Linked DNA regions of Homo sapiens: region 1 is linked to region 2. The links are contacts of gene promoters, found by promoter capture Hi-C in human tissues and cell types (Jung and others, 2019). All regions are on one chromosome and are shown on one strand. Each heading gives the region's core, a stretch centred on a gene start or on the middle of the fragment in contact. The rest is flanking DNA. Distances are from core to core; before and after follow the strand shown.

Region 1 (5,688 bases), core at 1,124-3,623, 290 kb before region 2:
ACTAAATTAGGCTTTTAGTAGGCACCTGTGTCAATTTAAAGACGTTCTTTTCCATTCCCTTGTTTGCTGAGAATTTTTATCATGATGGATATTGAATTTTGTTAAATACTTTTTATGCACGTATCATCATGTAGTTTCTCTTTATTAATATTATGAATTATAGTCATTGACTTTCAAAACTTGAATTAGCCATACATTCCCAGGATAAACATGAATGTATTATTCTTTTTCTGTATTTCTAGATTTGACTTGAGGTTTTTTTGTTTGTTTGTTTTTTTCAGAGGGTGAATTTTTTTGTTGTTTTTTTTCTGTTTTTGTAATTTTTCGTGACTTTGATATCAGGGTAATGCTGGCCTCATAAAATGATTTTCCTCTTCTATGTGCTATGTGTTTTTTTTTTTCTTATACTTTTTTTTTTTGAGACGGAGTCTTGCTCTGTCGCCCAGGCTGGAGTGAAGTGGCATGATCTCGGCTCACTGCAAGCTCCACCTCCCAGGTTCATGCCATTCTCCTGCCTCAGCATCCCGAGTAGCTGGGACTACGGGCACCCGCCACCATGCCTGGCTAATTTTTGTTTTTGTATTTTTAGTAGAGACGGGGTTTCACTGTGTTAGCCAGGACGGTCTCCATCTCCTGACCTCGTGATCCGCCTGCCTCGGCCTCCCAAAGTGCTGGGATTACAGGCTTGAGCCACTGCGCCTGGCCTATTCTTTTGTTCTTAAATGTTTGGTAGAATTTGTCAGTGAAGCTTTCTGGGCGTGTAGTTTTCTTTGTTTGAAGGTTTTAACTAAGAATTTAATTTCCTTAGTAGATTTCGAACTAATAAACTTATCTGTCTCTTCTTGAGTGTAATTTTTGACAGTTCATTTCCTTCAGGGAATCGATACATTTTATTTGTTACAAGATTTATGGGCATCAAAGTCCATAAAATGCTCCTCCACTTACAATGGGATTACAGTCCCAATAAGTCCATCATAAATTGAAAATGCATTTAATACTTCTAATCGTAGCTTAGCCTAACCTACCTTAAATGTGCTCAGAATATTTACATTGGCCTACAATTAAGCAAAATAACACAAAGACTTTTACAATACAATGTTGAATAATACAGGTAAGAATATCATACCACATATCACTAGCCTGGTGAAATATCAAAATTCAAAATTGGAAGTATGGTTCCTACTGAATGCACATTGCATTCTCACCATTGTAAAGTCAAAAAATCATAAGTTGAGCTATTTAAATTGGGGACTGTCTATATTTGTAATATACTCATATCTCTAGGGTTTGTAGCCATGCTTTTTTTTTTTTTTTTTTTGTTTTTTTGTTTTTTTCATTACCTCTGAGAAGCTGTGATGAAGTCATCTTCTGTCTTTTATTCCTGATAATTGGTATTTTGTGTCCTCTCGTTTATTTATTGTTTATTAATTTAGGTCAGCTTGGCATTAGGTTCTTAATCTTTTCAAATGCTCAACTTTTGGTTTTGTTGATTTTTCTGTAATTTTCTATTTTTAATTTCATAGATTTCTGCCCATTTTTCTTCTTGCTTTGGGTTTAATTTCCTCCCCTTTCTAGTTTTTTGAAGATTGAAGTTTATGTCATTTGATACTTCTGTCTTTTTAATCTGAACATTTTTTGTTATATACATTTCCCATTAAGCACTACTTTAGCAAATTTTGAAACAAATTTGAAACCAAGTTTTCATGACTATTTACTATTATATTTGCTATTATATTATTTTCATGACTAGTATATTTGCTTTTCCATTCTGTTTAAAATTCTGTTTGATTTCTCTTGTTATTCTCTTGTTCATCTATGGATTGTTTAAAGTATATTTAAATTTCCTTAAAATTTTCAGAAATCATTCTGTTGCTGATTTATAACTTAATCCTCTTATGGTTAAAGGATATATTTTACATAGTGTTAACTTTTTTAATTTGTTATTTGTTTTATGGTCCAGAATATGAACTACCTTGATAAATATTTCAAATGCATTGAAAAGAAACTGTACTATAAATGCTGTTTGGTGAGTGTTCTGTAAGTGTCAGATCAAAGTTGTTGCTACTGTATTTCTGATTTTCTGTATGCTTGCGTTTTTTTTTTTTTTTTTTTTTTGGTCTCGTTTTATTGATTATGAGACAGAAATGTTAAAGTCTGATTTTATTTCTCTGTTTAGTTACCTTTTTTGTGTTAAGTGTGTTTTTACCTGATATATTTTGAAACTATTGTTAAGGGCATAAATGTATTTGGGATTGTTATGTCTTGGTGGACTGAATCATTTGTTAATATATAATATCACTATCCCTGTCAATATTCCTCTGAAAACTACTTTGTCACATACTTATCAAACTACTGCTAGTAATCTCTTTTTCCTCTCCTCTGGGATTTTAATTATGTTAGTGTATTAGACCCTTTCGTTCTGTCTCATAGACCTCATATTCTTTTTCTTGTCAATATTTTTTTCTCTTCAGGTTGGGTAATTTATATTGTTCTGTCTTCTAGCTCATGATTCCTTCATCTGTCATCTCCATTTTGCAAAAATTTTCATTTGATTCTTTTTAAAAAAAAAATAGTTTCTATATATTCTCTGAGTACTTCTATCTTTCCATTAATTTTAAGTTTGTTTATTTTTACCCCATGGAGTATAATTACAATAGTTGCTTTAAAATCTGTTTCATTTAATGTCTTGGGATCCAACATCTAAACCTTAGGACTGACCTTTGTTAATTGTGTTTTCCTTTGAAAATTCTTCACATTTTCTTGGGTTTTTGTATGTTGAATAATTTTGGGGTTGTCTCTTAGCCATTTTGAATATTATATTGTAAGATGTTGGGTCCTGTTTAAATTGTGTGGGAAATGTTGGTTTTTTGTTTGTTTCTTCATTTCTTAGTAGGTGATCAGTTGGCTTAGATTTAGACTGTAAGTTCTGTCTTGCTTTCCCTAGGTGATTGTTGCCTTGTCAAAGGAAACAATCAGTTCATTTCTCAGAGCTTTTGCTGTGGTACTTTGAGTCTGCCTAATGCCCATGCCAGTTAGAGCTTAGTTTAGGACTTGGGTCATCTTTTCAACTGTAGTTCAGTGCGCAAAGCATTTGCTGCTCTGCTTTGTGTCCATCTTGCACATACACAGCTCAGAAGTGACTGTGCCAGTGAATGCACAGAACTGTAGAATCTCCTTCTCCATTACTTTCTTTCCAGGTTTCTCCCCGACTCTTTATCTCCCAGGGCCCCCTTTTACTGATACTTTGTCAAGAAGGTTGGGTTGTTTCATTTTAGGAGACTTTAGTGCCCAGTCTACTGCTGAATTCTGTTAGTAGGGCCCACCACAAGGGCAAAGAAGCAAGAGAATAAATAAGAAAAATATAATGGGGATTCGCCTTTTTCATATTCGTTATATCACAGATGCTCCTTTTTATATACACAGAGTTTTACTCTGAGTATTAGCTTCTCATACTGCTGTAGCTCTGTGACTGAAGCCCACCCATGGGGAAAAGTTGGAGGAGAAAAAGAGTAAAAAGGAAAAAATTACTCCCAATCCCTGGTTTGCTGAAGTCATTAATAAACACAACAATTTTACTTAGTGTTTGTTGCTTGAGGTGCTGACTTTAGCTTGCCAAGGGAGAAGAGAGGGGGAAAAATGGTACTCTTCATCCCGAATTTCATTTAAGTTTAGAATTCTGTCCTGGAAATGACTGTTTTTGTTTACTTTTTCAGTTTCCTCATATAGTTGCTTTTGTTTTTTGGATATTGTCCAGAGTAAACTCAAAGTGAGAGAGATTGGCTTACTCTCTCAGCTTGGCAGTAAAAGTCTCAAATGCTTTTAAGCCCATCTTAAGAGTATTATTTAGTGTTACTTAAATGTATTTATTACTCTTGTCTGTTTGGCGATCATATAAAATATTGCCTTTGTGATAACTTTATAGTTAGAGAATATTTTAAATCACTTATTTTATACAAATATATTTTGCTTATTTTCTATATTTTGTATTTAGTAAATGTTTAACTGAGGAATTTTTTAAACAGCTATTTTTTTCATTGCTTAAATAAAAACTGAGTTCATATGAATATTTTTCCTACATATGCTGTATATTTTTAAAATAATTTAGTTCCAAGTATATATGCACGTAATTACATGTTAAAGAACCATCATTATGTGGCAGCTAATCAGAAAGGAATTTTATGAGTCATTTTAAAGGTTCTTTTGGAGAAATATATTTTCCTTTTTAAATATGTAACCTGAGAATTGTTTCCAATAAATAACCTTGCCTTTGAATTAAACACATTCTTTAAAGGTATTTTTCTTTAAATGTGAGTTTGAAGAATTTAGACTGTATGATAGCAGAAGTTACAGGTTCTTCTTCATTCCAGATTTCCTTAATATTATTATTATTATTATTTTGAGACAGAGTTTTGCTCTTGTTGCCCAGGCTGGAGTGCAATGGCACGATCTCAGCTCACTGCAGCCTCCACCACCCGGGTTCAAGCAGTTCTCCTGCCTCAGCCTCCCAAGTAGCTGGGGTTACAGGCATGTTCCCCCCACCCTCGCCCCGACAGCTGGCTAATTTTGTATTTTTTTAAATAGAGATGGGATTTCACCATGTTGGTCAGGCTGGTCTCCAACTCCTGATCTTAAGTGATCCACCCACCTCGGCCTCCCAAGGTGCTGGGATTACAGGCATGAGCCACCGCACCTGGCCCTTCATTCCAAATTTTCTTAGTTGCATAAGTTAATGCACAAGTGACAACTGTGAAGTCTTGGTAGATTTTAGAAATCAGTTAGTGAAACTCATGCTGATTGTAATGCTTCCAGTTTTTCATCAGCAGATTAAATAACTTAATAAATAGCATTATGATAACAGTTATTATAATTTATAACTTTAGAGGCAATTACCTTTCCTATAAGTTAAAGCTTTACTAAGTATATTCTCTCCTGAATTTAAATGAAATGTTAAAGACTTATGTTGATCAGCATCCATCATGGCCTCCAGGGATCTCTGCCTGCTAGTGTTCTTATGCTTGTGTAGTTCCCCTTCACCTACCTTGTTCCAGGCTTCATTTATGTGACCAGTAGATGTCTCTTCTAAAATTAGGTTATAAAAGACTCTGTAGCCTCTATCTTCATCATTTTCTCTCTTCGCAGTCGCTTGGTTTGGGAGAAACATCTGCGTTGTCACAAGCCCACATGGTGGGGAACTGAAGCCTTATGCCAAAAGTCATGTTGAGTGAGCTTGGAAGTGGTAGTTTAATAGTCTAGAGTCCTAGGAGGGACAGCTCAACTGCAGTGTGTTGAGACTGAGCCACAACTACCCAGCTTACCTGCTCTGAGATTCTTGACCTCCAAAACTGTGTGAGATAGTATATGTTTGCTGTTTTAAGTAGCTAAGCTTTAGGGCAGTTTGCTGTATGACAACGTCTAGCTACTAATACATGGTCTGTTGTTTCCCTTTGACAAAGTTTTTAAGAGTCCAGCTTATTTATATTTGGTAAACAGTATTAAAGTTTACATCTTTGTATTTAATCTTTCATACTTTTTATAGAGGTATAAAACAATACACATTGCCCCTGAGTTTTATGGTAGTTTTTGTTGAAATAGCACTCTCCCTTTTTACTCATATGGGTAACTTTCTGTTTTCTGTAGGACCTGGACAGTAGTTTAGAAGCGAGTCTGGAAGAATTCCATATGAAACTT
Region 2 (5,689 bases), core at 1,573-4,072:
TCAGTGTCTCACTATTCATTAAGAAAACTCGGATCTCATGTTTCTATTTATAAAATGTCTAGGTGCAATGGAGCAGTCTCCTGAACCTACATTCTTTACGGTCCAGATGAATGGCCACTTCCCAGGTGAAGTCTCCCATAACCCCTCCTAGGCAGAAGGACCTTTCCTTCCTCTGGGCTCCCAGAGCACTTAATCTGAAACCTTCTTTTAGCCGTTTCTACATTCATCTTCATTTCAAATCCAAGTCTCTGATGTCTCCGTACTTCTGAAATATTCCTACTTCCCAATACATTTAATAATTGTACATCCACCAGAAAAAAAATACTAGCACCCTAAATTTCCCCTTTTTTTGAACTGACTAGTGCCTTTTTTATGGGTTTCTCATCTAATAGTAACAGATCATACTTCCAGCTTCCTGGTAGATGCTACACCCTCACTCGGTTATGTTAGCTTCTATGTTATTGAAACACTCTATTAAATGGTGTGGGCACTTCTAAGTGATGAGAGAAGATATCATCATGCTTCACAAAGGGGATGACTTTAGAGTCAAATAGATGTGCATTTGATTTGGGTTCTATACTTATTAGATGTGTGAACTTGAGCAAGCCACTTAACTTTTATGAGCCTCAGATTCCCCATTTGTCAGTGGAAGGGTAATACTTTCTTTGAAAGTTTCCTACTATGCTCTTTCCCCTTTCCCTCCTCCATGAGTTTGCACATGCTATGCCTTCAGCTTAATTCTCTCACCCACTTTTTGCTGGGAAGACTTCTGATTATTCAGGCCTCAGCTTAGATGCTGCATACCTTAGGAATTCCCCTAGCCCTCAAAGATCAAGTTAGTTGTGTTTTCCATGTGCTCACTGCCCAAATTCTTGGCACTTAGTCCTTGAATTGTAATCATTTGTGTCTTGCTCTTTCTTTCCCCCTTTGAGGAACTGGTAACTCTGTTGAGGACAGGGACCATGATTTGTTAATTGTCACCTACCATCTTTGTCCTACTTCATCCACTTTTCACCCAAAAAAAAAAAAAAAGCCAGAAAAAGTAAGCCACCTCAGCTAAGGAATTCATAATTCTGAGATTCTGAAGAAAATGTCAATTTCTCACTGAGCGTTTATTACCTGAATGCATTACAACGTTTCAGCTCTTCAAATTGCTGGCTCCGTTCTTGCACTGTGTTAGGCAGTGGGCAATAATTTGCTTTTGGTACAGAAATTGAGTGATGTGTCTTCTGAACTGATGTTAAAACCCAATAGTTTCCAATTTTATAAGATTTAAAGCCAGTTTTGTATATGTGAAACTACCCAAATCACCAAGAGAATTAATTTTCTTAGGAGATTCTCATCGGTAATAGCAATTTCCACAGTTTGTTTGGCACCCCTAGTGGTAAATATTTTATTTTAAAAACTCAGCCACATATAAATTTATTGTAACAATCTAGGCACTTTGTCATAAATAAAAGCAATGATAACTGTGGTGCTATCTTCTATTTACTTCAAATGTCACTCCTGAAGTGTACATTTATAGAACATGGTAATTCAATGAGGAAGCTCCAGGGTCAGATGGCTCAGGTTCCATTACCATCCCTGACACTCACTAGTTGTGTGATCTTTGGAAAGTTATTTCATTCCTCTGTTACTCAGTTCCCAGTCTATAGAGTAGCAATAATAGCCTCTGCATTATAGAGTTATTGTATGGCTTAAATGAGCTAATACATGTAAGGGCTTATAACAGTGCCTAGCACCTGGTATAAACACTCTATAAATGTTAGCTATTGTTATTTGCCAGGAGTGAATCAAATATAAGAAGAGTGTTTGTATAAGATTACCTTTAAATTCCCTGCCAATCCTGAGGTTCTATGTTTCTATATCATTCCAGTCCCTTAGCATTCCTATTCAGTAGGGAGGGGGCAGCATTATCCACATTTTACAAACAGTAAAATTGAGCCATAGAGAAGCAAAATGTCCAGTAAGCAAGTGGCAGTCTGAAACCAGGACTCAGATTTTTAGATGTAAGTATTAGGACTCTTTCCGGGAGGCTGTGTGGCTGTACATTTAAAAGAGAATGTTAGATATCCCTTATGAGCCTATGAGCAGTGACCCCTTGATGCCCCTTCTCTGCCAAGGTTCTCCATAAATGTGCATCAAGGTCACTTCTGTCTCTACTTCTGAGATGATCTCAGGCCATATCTTTTCAGATATTTTTCTTACTAGCTTTACAAAAAAGCTATATTGTGGAGTTGGATGAAGGGCCAGCTCCCTGTATCCTCTGCCTCTTTAGGCATTCCCATGCCTGGGTTGTGCTACGTATACACATACTTCACCTGGCTGCAGACGCTGACTTTTTGGAGGGTTCCTTCTGCTGAGCCCGGACCTCAAACCACTTGAGAACCCCACAACTGACCTTATTCCAAAACATTCTATCCCAACCCATTCCACCCTGGATTTCTCCTTCAATCATGGGCAAAGGATCTGCAAAAGCTTCCATCCTCTCCCTTTCTCTTCTTATCTGGGTTGGTCAGAGGGAAGCCTCTATCTTCTTCAGGACCCTGCCTATGCAGAGGCAGCTCCAAGAGTTGGGTGCGGGGAGTATTTCTGTGCCTGAATCTGGACTGTTCAAGAGGATTTAGGATGCTTTTCTTTTCTGTCCACTAGGGGGCTGCTTGTAGGGGGATGGAAAAAACGGAGGCTTAAAAAAATCATGCTGCTGAAATTTCAGCAAGAGGGGAAAAGAGAGAGCGCGTGAGAGAGAGAGAGAGAGAGAGAGAGAGAGAGAGAGAGAGAGAGAGACAGCAAAGCAGTCCCAGGCTTCCTCCTCTCTTTCACGTCAGAGGCAGGAACCGACTGTGCTAAGGCTGTTGGCTCAACACCCAGAGGAGACGGGCAGACCCAGGGAGAGTGAGAGAAGGGGGTCCTCTCTGACCCAAGGAATTACCACTAGTGGAGTGAAGCCACCTGACTTTTTGATCTTATTTTGGTTGCCTCCTCATTCTCCTTCCACCCGTAGCCCTGACAGCTTGGGTTTCATTTCTTTCGTGGAGCCTTGTCTCTTCCTCCCAGAATAGGAGGAAGGGAAGAGAAGGGAAAGAGGAGGGCTCTCTAGGTGAGCGCATCAGCTGGCTCCAGCCTGAGCAAGCAAGAATTTTCTTCCCAGGAAGCTCCTCTCGCTCCCCGGCCGCCCACCCCCAGCCTGGGTAAGTCCAGAGCACTCGCTCCTTTGATTTTCTGGCTAACGTGATTTCAGCACCAAGGAGAGCTATGAGATGCATTTTGGTTCCTGTGTATCTGTGTGTTCTGCAAGGCATTTGGCACTAGGGTTACATCTATTTCTCTGCTGCCAGTAGAGTCGGGTTCTGCGTAGGGAAAAGAAAGGCGCAAAACTATGTTTACCGAATTAAAGGGGGATTGGACTCTGGCCTTGCGGGTGTGTGTGTGTGTGTGTGTGTGTGTGTGTGTACTGTTGCATAAGACAGGTGAGGTCTGAGCTAAATTGCGGGTGGTTTCTGCGTGTCTCCATGTAAGGCTGTTCTTTTTGTCTGTAGATAAGCGAGATGGTTTGGGGAATTAGTCGTGCACCTTCTTTAACTCTCTCCCGACAAGCCATCCATGGTGGGAAAGAGTTGCAAAGGAAGCCTGGGGGGTTGGGAGTGGAGGTAGAGTTAAAAGTTACGCACCTCTGAGAGAGCTTTAAAGAGGTGCTTTGTAAAATGTCAGTTTCCTAGTATTCTCTGGGCTCTTGCTGTGGAGAGAGCCCAACCTGACCTTTTACTTTCTCTTCTGGTGTGAACCCATGGTAAGTGGGCAGGTGCAACAGGTGAAGCTCAGGCTGGGGCGGCTTTGGGGGGTTGAGGTCCCTTCTGACTTCATGGTGGTAGGAAAGTGCTAGTGTCTTGAGCTTTGCAGAGACTGGCTGGTGTGGGTTATATTACATTTGCAAGGAGGCAGGAGGTACCCTCCACTTTTATGCCATCTTTGGCTATGGGTGGTTGGAAAGAAGACAAAGTCTGTTCTGCCCTGTTTTCTGGGGCATTTGGCAGTGAAAAACAACTAAGAATAAAGGTTTGTCTCTATATGTCTAGGGTGAGCAGAAACAAAATTAGACTTGTCCCAGACTCAGGAGGGCTTGAAGTGGTACTCTGTTCTCCTCCAGCACTGAGAGGCTCTGCAAACAGGAGCTCATTATTACTTCTTTCTTCACTGCTGCTACTTTTTGCAAGGTATTACTCTGTCTCTCCTGCTTTCTGCCTCTCTGAAGTATGTTCAGTCAATTCCCTGCATCTGCTTTGGTATTGTCTTGGAGACACTATAGGCCTGCCCCTGCCCCATTCAGTCCTGGCCACACCTACCTGGTTGAGTCATTCAACAAGTGGTGTTGAGGATTTCCTTCAATCATTCAAGTCTCCGTGGAGCCAGCATCCTACAGGGAACTTGAAAGAGATGTGGCTTCTTGTAGGAGCAAGTCTTCCCTTGATTTAACCCCTAACTGTTTATGGTTCTGGTCACTTTCTTCAAGTGTGTTGAGACAGGGGAGATACATAGGCAAGGTGGGGTGGTTTCACTCTTTCCAACCCCAAATGGACCCTAGAATGGTGATTCTTTGTCTTATTTTTAATTCAGCACAATGGGCCCCTTCTCCAAGATGAAGAAAATACTCTCTGCCTCTGGCTGGGGAGCCTTCTGGGTGAGAGACACAGTTCTGAGTGAAATGGCACCACTTTTCTTTTTTACTATGCTTGGCATTGGATCCAGAAATCTTAGCATCTCCCTAGAGTGGCAGGAAGTAGAATGCATCCAGGAAGACAGTGAAGTCAGAGGTTGTAAGGGTAGGGAAGAAAGACTGAAATAGACAAATGCAGAGCATCAGAAACCAACACTGACTCATTCAGTATTTTAACATTCCAAACCTCCTGTCCTTGAAATCTTCCAGTTTGAACAAGTGAGTGGATAGATTTCTGCATGACACATCACTGAGGATTTTTAAAAAATTATGCCCTTGCAGTGGACCCTGTCCAAAACCACAGTTTATTACTGAAGTCACCATACTTAGTAGTCATTATCTCATTAATGCCCTTAAATTTTCTCTGAAAAAAAAGTGCTCAGTGACATTATTGGACCCATTTTATAAATGGAGAGACACAGACGCTTAAAGTGGGAAGCCAGAGGATAGCGAAAGCAGAAATAGAACTTCTAGCCTGCTAATATTCCCTCACCTAGGAAATGCAGTAATGCTCATGTGCAGGAGAGAAGGAATGGATTGCTCCCCATTGGATAGACTTGCAGCCAAAGCCTTTTAGGGAACTCAGTGTGGAGCAATGGCCTCTCTCTGGTGAAGAATGAGAATCAGCCAGAAGTCTCAAGGTGCTGCTGGCCTTTACTTCTCAGCTAAGAAGATGGCCAAGAGCCAGGTAAAGAGCTCTCTGGGCTTACTGCAAAGAGAGAACCCTGGGCTGGTGGCATCTAGGCTGAACTGATGTCGTGCACCTGATTGTCACATCACCATGCCCCAGAAATCCCAGCTGAAGCCACCCTATCTGGGGCATGTTGCCATGGATGTCTTGGCTTTGGGTGTTTGGTGACTGTTCTCTCTAAGAACGTTTTTCTGGGACCACCTTCATTGAGTCCTCTGTGGCTCTGAATGTGGCAAGGATGACTAAGGAGCAGGAGAGGGCTGGGCTCTGACCACCTATAGAAC

The links. The method cuts DNA at HindIII sites, captures the fragments that hold promoters and counts their contacts. A contact is called where the count stands out against the background at its distance.
Region 1: a fragment that was not itself captured here is called in contact with the fragment with the promoter of TNR in region 2 in 2 of the 25 tissues and cell types used here (H1 embryonic stem cells and thymus).

Annotation. Positions count from the first base shown.
Region 1 is chr1:176,032,138-176,037,825 of GRCh38, reverse strand. All of the region lies in intron 14 of COP1 (COP1 E3 ubiquitin ligase), which reads left to right. Among named protein-coding and RNA genes, the nearest start is that of MIR1843, 67 kb to the right of the region's middle. The HindIII fragment of the contact is 5,547 bases long and covers 1-5,146 here.
Region 2 is chr1:175,740,728-175,746,416 of GRCh38, reverse strand. TNR (tenascin R) reads left to right here and starts at 2,822. Exons shown (of 23, transcript NM_003285.3): 1 at 2,822-3,191. The HindIII fragment of the contact is 10,162 bases long and covers 1,216-5,689 here.